Regions from separate parts of the Homo sapiens genome. Here all the other regions are linked to region 1. Evidence: promoter capture Hi-C in human tissues and cell types (Jung and others, 2019). All regions are on one chromosome and are shown on one strand. Each heading gives the region's core, a stretch centred on a gene start or on the middle of the fragment in contact. The rest is flanking DNA. Distances are from core to core; before and after follow the strand shown.

Region 1 (3,008 bases), core at 380-2,879:
AACAGTTCCTGTAATCTTTTATCACGGTTCTTAGCTTCTTTGCCTTGGGTTAGAATATAATCCTTTAGCTCAGCAAAGTTTGTCATTACACACTTTCTGATACCTACTTCTGTCAGTTCATCCATCTCAGCTTCAGCCCTGTTTTGTGCCCTTGCTGGAGAAGTGTTGAAATCATTTGAGGAGAAAAGGCATTCCAGCTTTTGGAATTTTCAGCGGTTTTGCGTTGGTTTTTCGTCATCTTTGTGGATTTATCTACCTTTAATCTTTAAAGCTGTTGACCTTTGGATGGGATTTTTGTAGGGTCTTTTTTGTTGATGCTGTGTTATTGTTGTTTTATTTTTTTTTGTTTTTCTTCCAACATTCAGGCCCTTCCTCTGCAGGTCTGCTGCAGTGTGCTGAGGATCTACTCCAGACACTGTTCACCTATGTATCACCAATGGAGGCTGCAGAACAGCAAAGAGTGCTGCCTCCTCCTTCCTCCGGAAGCTTCTTCCCAGAGGATCACTGACCTGACGCCTGTTGGAACTCTCCTGTATGAGGTGTCTGGCAACCCCTGTTGAATGGTCTAACCCAGTCAGGAGGCCCAGGATCAGGAACTCACTTAAGGAAAGAGTCTGGCTATCCCTTAGCAGAGATGGTGCACTGGGCTGGGGGAATCCCCCTTGTCTGGATCGCTGATACTCTTCAGAGCCAGCAGGCAGGAAAGATTAAGTTGGCTGAACCTGAGACCGCAGCTGCCCCTCTCCGCAGGTGCTCTGTACCAGGGAAATGAGAGCTCTGTCTGTAAACTCTAGGTGGAGTTGCTGAAATTCCTGCAAGCATTTCTTGCCGGGAGAGGAGGGATGGATCCCGGTCCCACCTAAAGAAGCAGTCTGGCCATGATCTGCCACAGCGGCTGTGCTGCACTGTGAAGACTGCTGCCCAGTCCAATCTGCCCAGCCTCCCTAGCACTGGTAGGGAAAAACCGCTGACTAGAGCTGCAGTAATGGCAGTCGCCCCTCCCCTGGGGAACTCGGTCATCTCTGGCGTACTCCAGGCTGCTATGCTGGCTAGTGGGGATTCTAATCCAGCGGATCTAAGCTTGCAGGCTTCTGTGAGAATGGACCTGCTGCAAGGCCATTTTGCTCCCTGGCTTCAGCCCCCTTTCCATGGGAGTGGACGGGACTCCTGCCTCACTAGAGTTCCGGGAGCTGCTGGACTATGTAAAAACTCCTGCAGCTCAGTGCCTGCCCAAAAAGCTGGAAATATGAACTATTGGGTTAATTCTTATCAGGAAATGAAAAAGAGTTGTTAGATTAAACTTCTTCAGTCATTGTCGTTCTTTGTAATCAGAGAAAGAAAAACTGAGAGATCAGGAAGAGAAGAGACAGATGGATAGAAGAAGTTTGGGTGGCCACAGGAAACAAGAAAAGAAACAAGCTGAGGTGTCAACCCACAGGATAATATTTTGTCATTTTCATTTTTTTCCCCCAAGTCAGAAACTAAATTCCAGTAATTGGATGCCAATTTGCTGATGACAAGGCACTTCCTGATAATGAGTCTGGAATTCTGAGCAGCAGTTTCACAATCTGTAATTACACGTTTCCGCCCTTTGCAATAAGGAAATACATAGTTTACTTTCATTTTTGACTCTGAGGCTCTTTCCAACGCTGTAAAAAAGGACAGAGGCTGTTCCCTATGGCAGGTGAGTCCTTTTCTGACTAGGAGTTTGGGAGTAGGAACTTAGAAAACACTTGATTTATTGCTCTGAAATAAACACAAGAAAGGAAGTGAGCCGATAGCACACATGTTGAATTCCTTTTCTTACTGATTGTGTGTAGTTTGAATCATGGGACCTGGTGTTAGAGATATTGACGGAGGTCATATGTTTTCCAGATGTCTTTGAGCCAGAAAGAAGTTAATTCCTTTCTTTCAGCTTCTGGTAATCAAAGGGAGGGTAAAGAAAGCCAGAGGAAGTTATTTGTGTGAGACAATTCTAGAAGTTTCGAAATGCACTCTGAAATCTTTCTTTTGATTCCAAATTAATTGCCCAGATCACAAACCTTTTTCGCAGAATCAGATCTGAGAGCCTCTGAATTGTTATCTTCTTCGACATCTCTTATTGTGAATTACATTCTTGGTCTGTTTAAAGTGATTCAATTTTTTCCTCTTTCTCGTTGGTCCTGATACTGACTACTTTAATATAATATTTCATGGGTTAATATCACAGTTGTTTTGTTTTGCCGTTGTTATTGTTTTTAACTGGTATCCTTCCCTCCAGGACTTAACTCTCCAATCCATTCTGCACACAACTTTTAGGTCACCTGTCTTATACACAGAAGCTGAAAAAGCCTAAGGGATAGAGTTACTTAGGCAGCTAGTATTCCAGCAGGTCATAACGCTTCTTTGGCTTCATTCTCCTCACAGGAAAAGGAAGAAATTGGACTAGATCAGTGAATTCTAAACCTTATAACATATCGCAGCAATCTGTAGTCATATAAAAAAAGTCAGATGACTACCCCCTTCCTCACCGCGAATAGCTCAATCTTAAATACCCTGCAGGCATTTATTACCTTTGAAGATCGTCACATAATTCTTATGAAACTGACTTGACATAGGTTTGTTCTATTAGGAAAGTTGACCAGTTAGTTAACACTCTCTGCTTATCTGCTAGTGATCTATTAATGTAATTAACTTTGCTCAGGGACATACAGTGGCTCCCTATTGCCTTTTCTCTTTTTTACTATCTGAACTTTCAGACAATTTTTTCTACCTTTTGAAACATGTGTATCCAGTTTTTCCATTAATCTTTGTAAAGCATGATTTCAACTTCATAAAAAAATACTGTATTTACTTCACTCATATTACCTTGTTGTTGTTTCTTTACTCCTTTGATTCTCCCTATAGAACAATTCTCTCCGGGGTTTATGTCTAACTTCACAACATTTAACTTAAGCTCTGGAATCAAGGGATCATTAGATAAAGATAGGGTAAATTGAAAGCCACTAGTCAAAAACAAGTCGTGGTTT
Region 2 (3,008 bases), core at 128-2,627, 210 kb after region 1:
ATTAGTAATAAAAACAAATTTCATTCAACCATGCTAAAGGAGAGGTAGAATTAGGTATTCATTTTCTCTAGAGAAAATTATATTACAAAGTTCTTTTTCTGAGAAGAATTAAAGAATAAACAGTCAAAATAATTAAGCAGTTAAAAAATTTTTTATTTTTTTCATGTTTATGAAATGTTTGTTTTTTTAAATTTATAACTTGTGATTTATTTTTGTTCTACATAAATATTTACTCTCATCACTAATTTTGCATTTGTAATGCTGATTTGAATAAATTTCAGGCCTCACACTACCTGGATGCATCCTGCTCATCCAATACATGGCACTACTATTCACCTAAAATTCAAGGTTGCTTCTTACATGTACTTGTGGAGTCCTCCAAATATCCTTACATTACCTTTTCTCCAAAGCTTTGGCTTATGTTAGAGCAAAAAATATTTATAGGTGGTGTCTGTGTCTATATGTGTCTCTAAGTTTGCTGTAACCAGGTGAGGCTTGAAAGGAATACCCTTGACATTTATTTGTTATACAATCTGAGTTGGGTATCAAAAATACATCCCATGCCTACATATTATATCATTTTGGGATTTTACTTTGTCAGCTTCAGAAAGTCGGTTCTGAGTATACATTTCTTGGTTACTTTTTTGGCTTTCTCAGAGCCTAGTATGCAAGCAATGAAGAAAACTTTGAATTGAACATATCTGTTCTAAAGTTCTCTGGATTGAGATTGAATGTTCTGTTTCCTGTCTTAAGGGCTTGGTTTGCTTTATATGCAACTTGGTATATCCACCCTGTGGGATTTATGGTCTATTTTTCAGAGTTTGTCCTGAGAGTACTGTAAGTGTGTAGTCTCTAGACATTATAGTGGTTAACATTCTGAGAAGAGGATTCCATTTAAATCATGCGCTATCTACAATTTTTAATACTTCAAATAAATTAATATAATACAATCTTTTCCTATAATATTTCCGAAGGTAGCTTTAACTGACTTAAAATCCTCTACTGGAAAATTAGTTATATTTAATTAACTGGAAAAGCTCAAAGCATGCTGTGTCCTGAAAACTTATTTAAAGATTTACTTGATAAACCTTTATTGGGAAACTGTTCCTTGAAAATTGACCTCATAATAATACTGCCTTGATTTATAGTATATTTTATTTTAACATCTCAGACGTAAGACCATCTTTGAAATATCAGACCATGGTTTACTTAGTTGATGTTCAAAATCAAACAAACTCCATTAGCTCCATTATCAACATGAGAGATACAGGAAAGGATAGATGAATAACCTGTATTTCCTCAACTCTTCCACAAATTGCTATGGCTAGGAATGTGACATTTGTCAAAGCTTTAAGTTGTTATAATTATGAGTACTTTACCAGGAGTTTTTTTTTTTTTTAACTTTAGTATCCTAAGAAAACACCTTAACACATTTTATATTAATTTGTCCCACAGATGGGCCTTAGTAGAAAAAAAAAACTCAAGGTCCTTGTTGAGGAAAGAAGCTATGCTTTTTGTGTGAATACCCTGGGGGTGTGGATGCGTATGGAAAACACACACACACACACACACACACACACACACACACATATGCAAAGTCCAAAGATGTAAGAGGATTCTAGCTTTGGAAATGGTAAGCCATTTTCTTTTTTTCATGATCAAATGTGGCTTATTCTGGGAATACAAAGATAAATCAGTATTTCAGAAAGTTTGAGAAGAATTGATATTAAATCTTCTTTAAAGGTTCTGTAGAATTAAGTGGTGAAGCCATCCAATCTTGGACTTTAATTTGTTGGAATACTTTTTATTACTGATTCAATCTTATTATGTTATAGGTCTCCTTAAGTTTTTTATTTTTTCCTAATTCAATCTTGCCGGATTGGCATGTGTCCAGATATTTAATCATTTCCTCCAGGTTTTCCAATTTGTTAGCGTACAGTTGTTCATAATAGTCTGATGATCTTTTTTATTTTGGTGATATGAATTGTTATGTCTCATTTTTTTCTTTCTGATTTTGTTTCAGTTTTCTCTCTCTTTTTTTTTTCTTCTTGGTGGGTCAAACTAATGGTTTATCAATTTTATTATTCTCTTCAAAAACCAACTTTTTATTTCATTGATCCATTGCATTGTTTTTTCTTTAGTCTCTCTATCATTTAGTTTTACTCTGGTCTTTATTATCATTTCTTTCCTCTCCTAATTTTGTATTTGGTTTGTTCTTGCTTTTCTATATAGTTTCTTGAAGTGCATCGTTAGATTGTTTCCTTGAAATATTTCTACTTTTTTGAGATAGGCATTTATTGTTATAAACTTCCCTCCTTAGCATTACTTTTGCTGTATCTTTTATGTTTTGGTATGTTGTGTTTCCATTTTTATTTGCTTCAATATTTTTTTAAATTTTCTTTTTAATTTCCTCACTGACCCAGTGGTTGTTGTATATTGTTTAATTTCCATGTATTTGTATAATTTCTGAAGTTCCTCTTGTATTTCTCTTTTTTTTTCCATTGAGTTTTGAGAAGAAGCTTGCTATGATTTTGATTTTTTGAAATGTATTGAGACTCGTTTTGTTGCCTAACATATGGTCTATTCTGGAGAATGTTTCATGCGCTGTGTTCTGCAACTGTTAGGTAAAATGTTTTGTAGATGTCTGTTAGGTCCATTTGGTCTAAAATCCAGTTTAAATCCAGTGTTTCTTTGTTCACTTTCTGTCTAGATGATCTTTCTAGTGCTAAGAGTGGGATGTTGAAGTTCCCAAATATTATTGTATTAGAGTCTATTTTTCCCTTTAGATCTAATAATATTTGCTTTATATATCTGGGTGCTTCAGGGTTGCTGCATATTTATTTAGAATTGTTATACCCTTTTGCTGAATTGCTTTCGTTGTCATTATATAATGACCTTCTTTGTCTCTTTTTACCGTTTTTGACTTAAAGTAGCTTTTTTCTGGTATATCCACCCCAACTTACTTTTGGTTTCTGTTAGTGTAGAACAGCTTTTTTTTGTTTTTTCCA
Region 3 (3,008 bases), core at 176-2,675, 180 kb after region 1:
CAAGTTTGTATTTACTTAGCATAAACAGGCTTTTCACCTTTGCTTATGTATAGACTAGCAAGAGCATAGCACAGGGAAATGTAATGAGTGAGGTGCTAGGAATGTGGTGCTTTTGTAACAGCACGTGGTTTTTAGAAAGGTTTTATAAATAAATATATGTGAGTTATTTCCTATTATCTTTTTAATCAAAACAAATATATAATTATTAAATATAACCCTGAAATTATTTTTATGAAGATTAAATAGAATAAAACTAAAGGGCTTTGAAGTTCACAAAGTCTCCTAAAAGAATGGAAGTATGAAGTTCCAGAAATGATAAATTTTCATTTTCCCTCTAAGAAAACAACAAATCAAACCACTGCAAACCAGTAGCATATGTGGTAAAATTATTGTTGGGGAGGGGCCAATGGGGAACATGAAAGAGCCATGGTTTCCTCCCAAAACTTTGAAGCAATGAGAACAAAGTTACGTGATGCTGTCTTCATTCTAGAATTTCAAAATTTTTAAGCATTTTCTTTCATATACTGTCAGAAAAAAATGGAAACCCTGGAACTGCTCACCTACCAGAGGTAGGGCTTACTTAACGTTTCTGTGGCAACCTCATATTTTTTCTCTAATAGGTTTCCCCTATCTATTTGTGAGTTACACATGGGTCTAAGAAGTAACCCTTCCTAAAAGACAGTCATTAAGATAGCAGGCAAGTTCATTTTCCCTAGTTATACTTAGCTGGGCAATCTTGTTCCCAGCCTGTGTACTCATTGATGCACCTAATGTAAGATGTATATATACATCTTAATGTCTATTTCTTTGTATGAATTTAATGCTTTATAATATTGAGGTGTTTTGTTTTTTTAAAAAAAAATCTCATTACAGTCAGATGAGCACCAGTTTGGGGAATCAAGATTTTAGAAAACTCATCTCAGTCAGACAACTTCTCTTACCATCATGACCCTTGTGGATTTTACAAGATGTCTTTTCCTTCCCTAATACCATAAACTTACCTTGAAATCCCTCAGTCTGTGAGATGTAAAATATAAACTCTGTTGGTAAAACTCCATTTCAAACATCCCAGTCTATTTCACACTGCTAAAATAATTTTTTTTTTCAGAGATAAGGTGTCCTGGGAGTGGAGAAAGGGCAGTTTCATACATGTTGTCAGCATGTCACATGTTTTTTCAATATTTAAGGTAAGGATCTGAGATATTTTTACCTTTACCACACTTGTTAAGATTTTCCCTGACCTTATGAATTCCTGAAATTTGAAATCCAATTGAATTTTCATAGATATCTCCTTGAACATTAAATTGAAATTGTCTTTAAATAAGACTCTAGCTACAATCTTAACATAAGGATGGGATTCTTCCCCCTGCTTTGTGTTTGCTAACCACTGGTTAGCTTGAGTATTATGGTTACCATTGATAATAATGAAAGAATCTATCTTTACTTCTTCCCCATTTGCTTTTTCTACCGAGAATGTCTTAAAGTTGGTGAAATTCTCTGGATTATAAATCTTGTTTGTGCATAAGCATTACTGGAAAAGCACCTAGCTCTCTATATACTCCCAGTGACAGAGTTTGAGGAAAGTTTTCACTATAATTCTTCAAAGTACAGAAGTAGACATTTGAAGAGTCTGAACAGTAGAGGAGCTTAGGGCTTTTCTGGGAGAATGTTGAGAATTCTCAGATACTCAGTTATTTCATATGTAAATAATTTGTTTATTTGTGAGGATCCATAAGCAAGTAACATAAGATGTCTCAAGAATTGCATATCAGGTCTCAGAAAGAACTGAGTACACAATAGGACTCACTCCAGTTCTAGTGTCTGTCAGAGACTCCAGTGATGCAGCAGTAACTGTAGAAAGTAGCCTTTATATCCTCTAAGAATGAAGACACTGTTTGTTATGTATTCTCTCTCCTCTGCTCTGCTGATTCTCTCTCGCTCTCTTCCTGTCTTTCCCCACTGAAGCACGCACAGACACAAAATCTCCACAAAACCTGAAGTGAATATCATTGGGTGAGGCAGTCCCCATTTGATACAGACATCTTCTTGGGCTGTACTTTTATACCAGGCCACCTAATAGGCCATTGACAAACCTATTGATAACAGGCTTTAAGTGAACAGCTCACTCCTATTCCAGTATATAGTGATGGTTTTGGGACAAGAGGGAAACAAGAGGGAAAGTATTTTAACATTTGGTGCTGAGATTTTTCAAAATGTATGGTGCCCAAAGGAAGCTCAGAAAATCATGTTCTTCTTTATAATATTTTGTTAATCCGAGCTGTGAAGCAGGTTCACTGTACATTGGTTACCAAGCTGTCTGAGTCTGGTGAGACAGAATACCCCCCATACACACACATACACACACACGGACAAGTTATATGAAGTGGAATTATTACTTACAGATAGGCAGCAGTATATGACAGAAGACTGGGATTTAAGATGAGCTAGGTTGAGGAAAGCTGCCTGAGGCAGATAAAATCTGGTCTGTGCATGTCCCAACTGCACCACAGCTCAGGGACTCTGAAAAGCAGCTCAACTCTTTGGGTTTTATACCCTGGGAGCAATAAGACATGCTGGGTTAAAATGTTGAAGGACATCCTGCTTCTAAGCGGGGCTGGAAACAAGTCAGAGTTTTTCTAGTCAGCCCTTCCCTATCTCAGCATGTTTAATTCCCAGAACATTCTAGAGTTATTCTGAAGGACTACCTGCAAGAATAGGGTAGAGCTGGATTGGTCCAAGGTCATCCAGAAGACTGTCCTACAAGAGTATGCACCAGGGACCAGCAGCACAGCATCACCTGGGCACTCAATAGAAATGCAGAATCTCAGGCTCTTCTCTGAGGGACTGAAACAGAGTCTGCATTTTTAATTGACTTCATTTAACAAGTCCTCCAGGTGACTCATATACATATTAAAATGTGAGGAGCACTGCTTTTGCCAAGCTTCCACTAGTCTCCAACTTGACTTTTAATAGACTCTTAATAGTCAATGCATCTGTCTAGATCTTAG

Evidence for each region. The method cuts DNA at HindIII sites, captures the fragments that hold promoters and counts their contacts. A contact is called where the count stands out against the background at its distance.
Region 2: a fragment that was not itself captured here is called in contact with the fragment with the promoter of CASP4 in region 1 in 1 of the 25 tissues and cell types used here (spleen).
Region 3: a fragment that was not itself captured here is called in contact with the fragment with the promoter of CASP4 in region 1 in 1 of the 25 tissues and cell types used here (spleen).

Annotation. Positions count from the first base shown.
Region 1 is chr11:104,967,195-104,970,202 of GRCh38, reverse strand. It overlaps CASP4 (caspase 4), which reads left to right and starts at 1,629. Exons shown (of 9, transcript NM_001225.4): 1 at 1,629-1,684. The coding sequence starts at 1,678. LOC124902813 (a long non-coding RNA gene) reads right to left here. Exons shown (of 2, transcript XR_007062986.1): 1 at 2,043-3,008; 2 at 1,623-1,918. RefSeq lists an enhancer at 630-1,829. The HindIII fragment of the contact is 3,226 bases long and covers 1-3,008 here.
Region 2 is chr11:104,760,600-104,763,607 of GRCh38, reverse strand. No RefSeq gene overlaps it. Among named protein-coding and RNA genes, the nearest start is that of LINC02552, 150 kb to the right of the region's middle. The HindIII fragment of the contact is 3,490 bases long and covers 1-3,008 here.
Region 3 is chr11:104,782,327-104,785,334 of GRCh38, reverse strand. No RefSeq gene overlaps it. Among named protein-coding and RNA genes, the nearest start is that of LINC02552, 170 kb to the right of the region's middle. The HindIII fragment of the contact is 7,314 bases long and covers 1-3,008 here.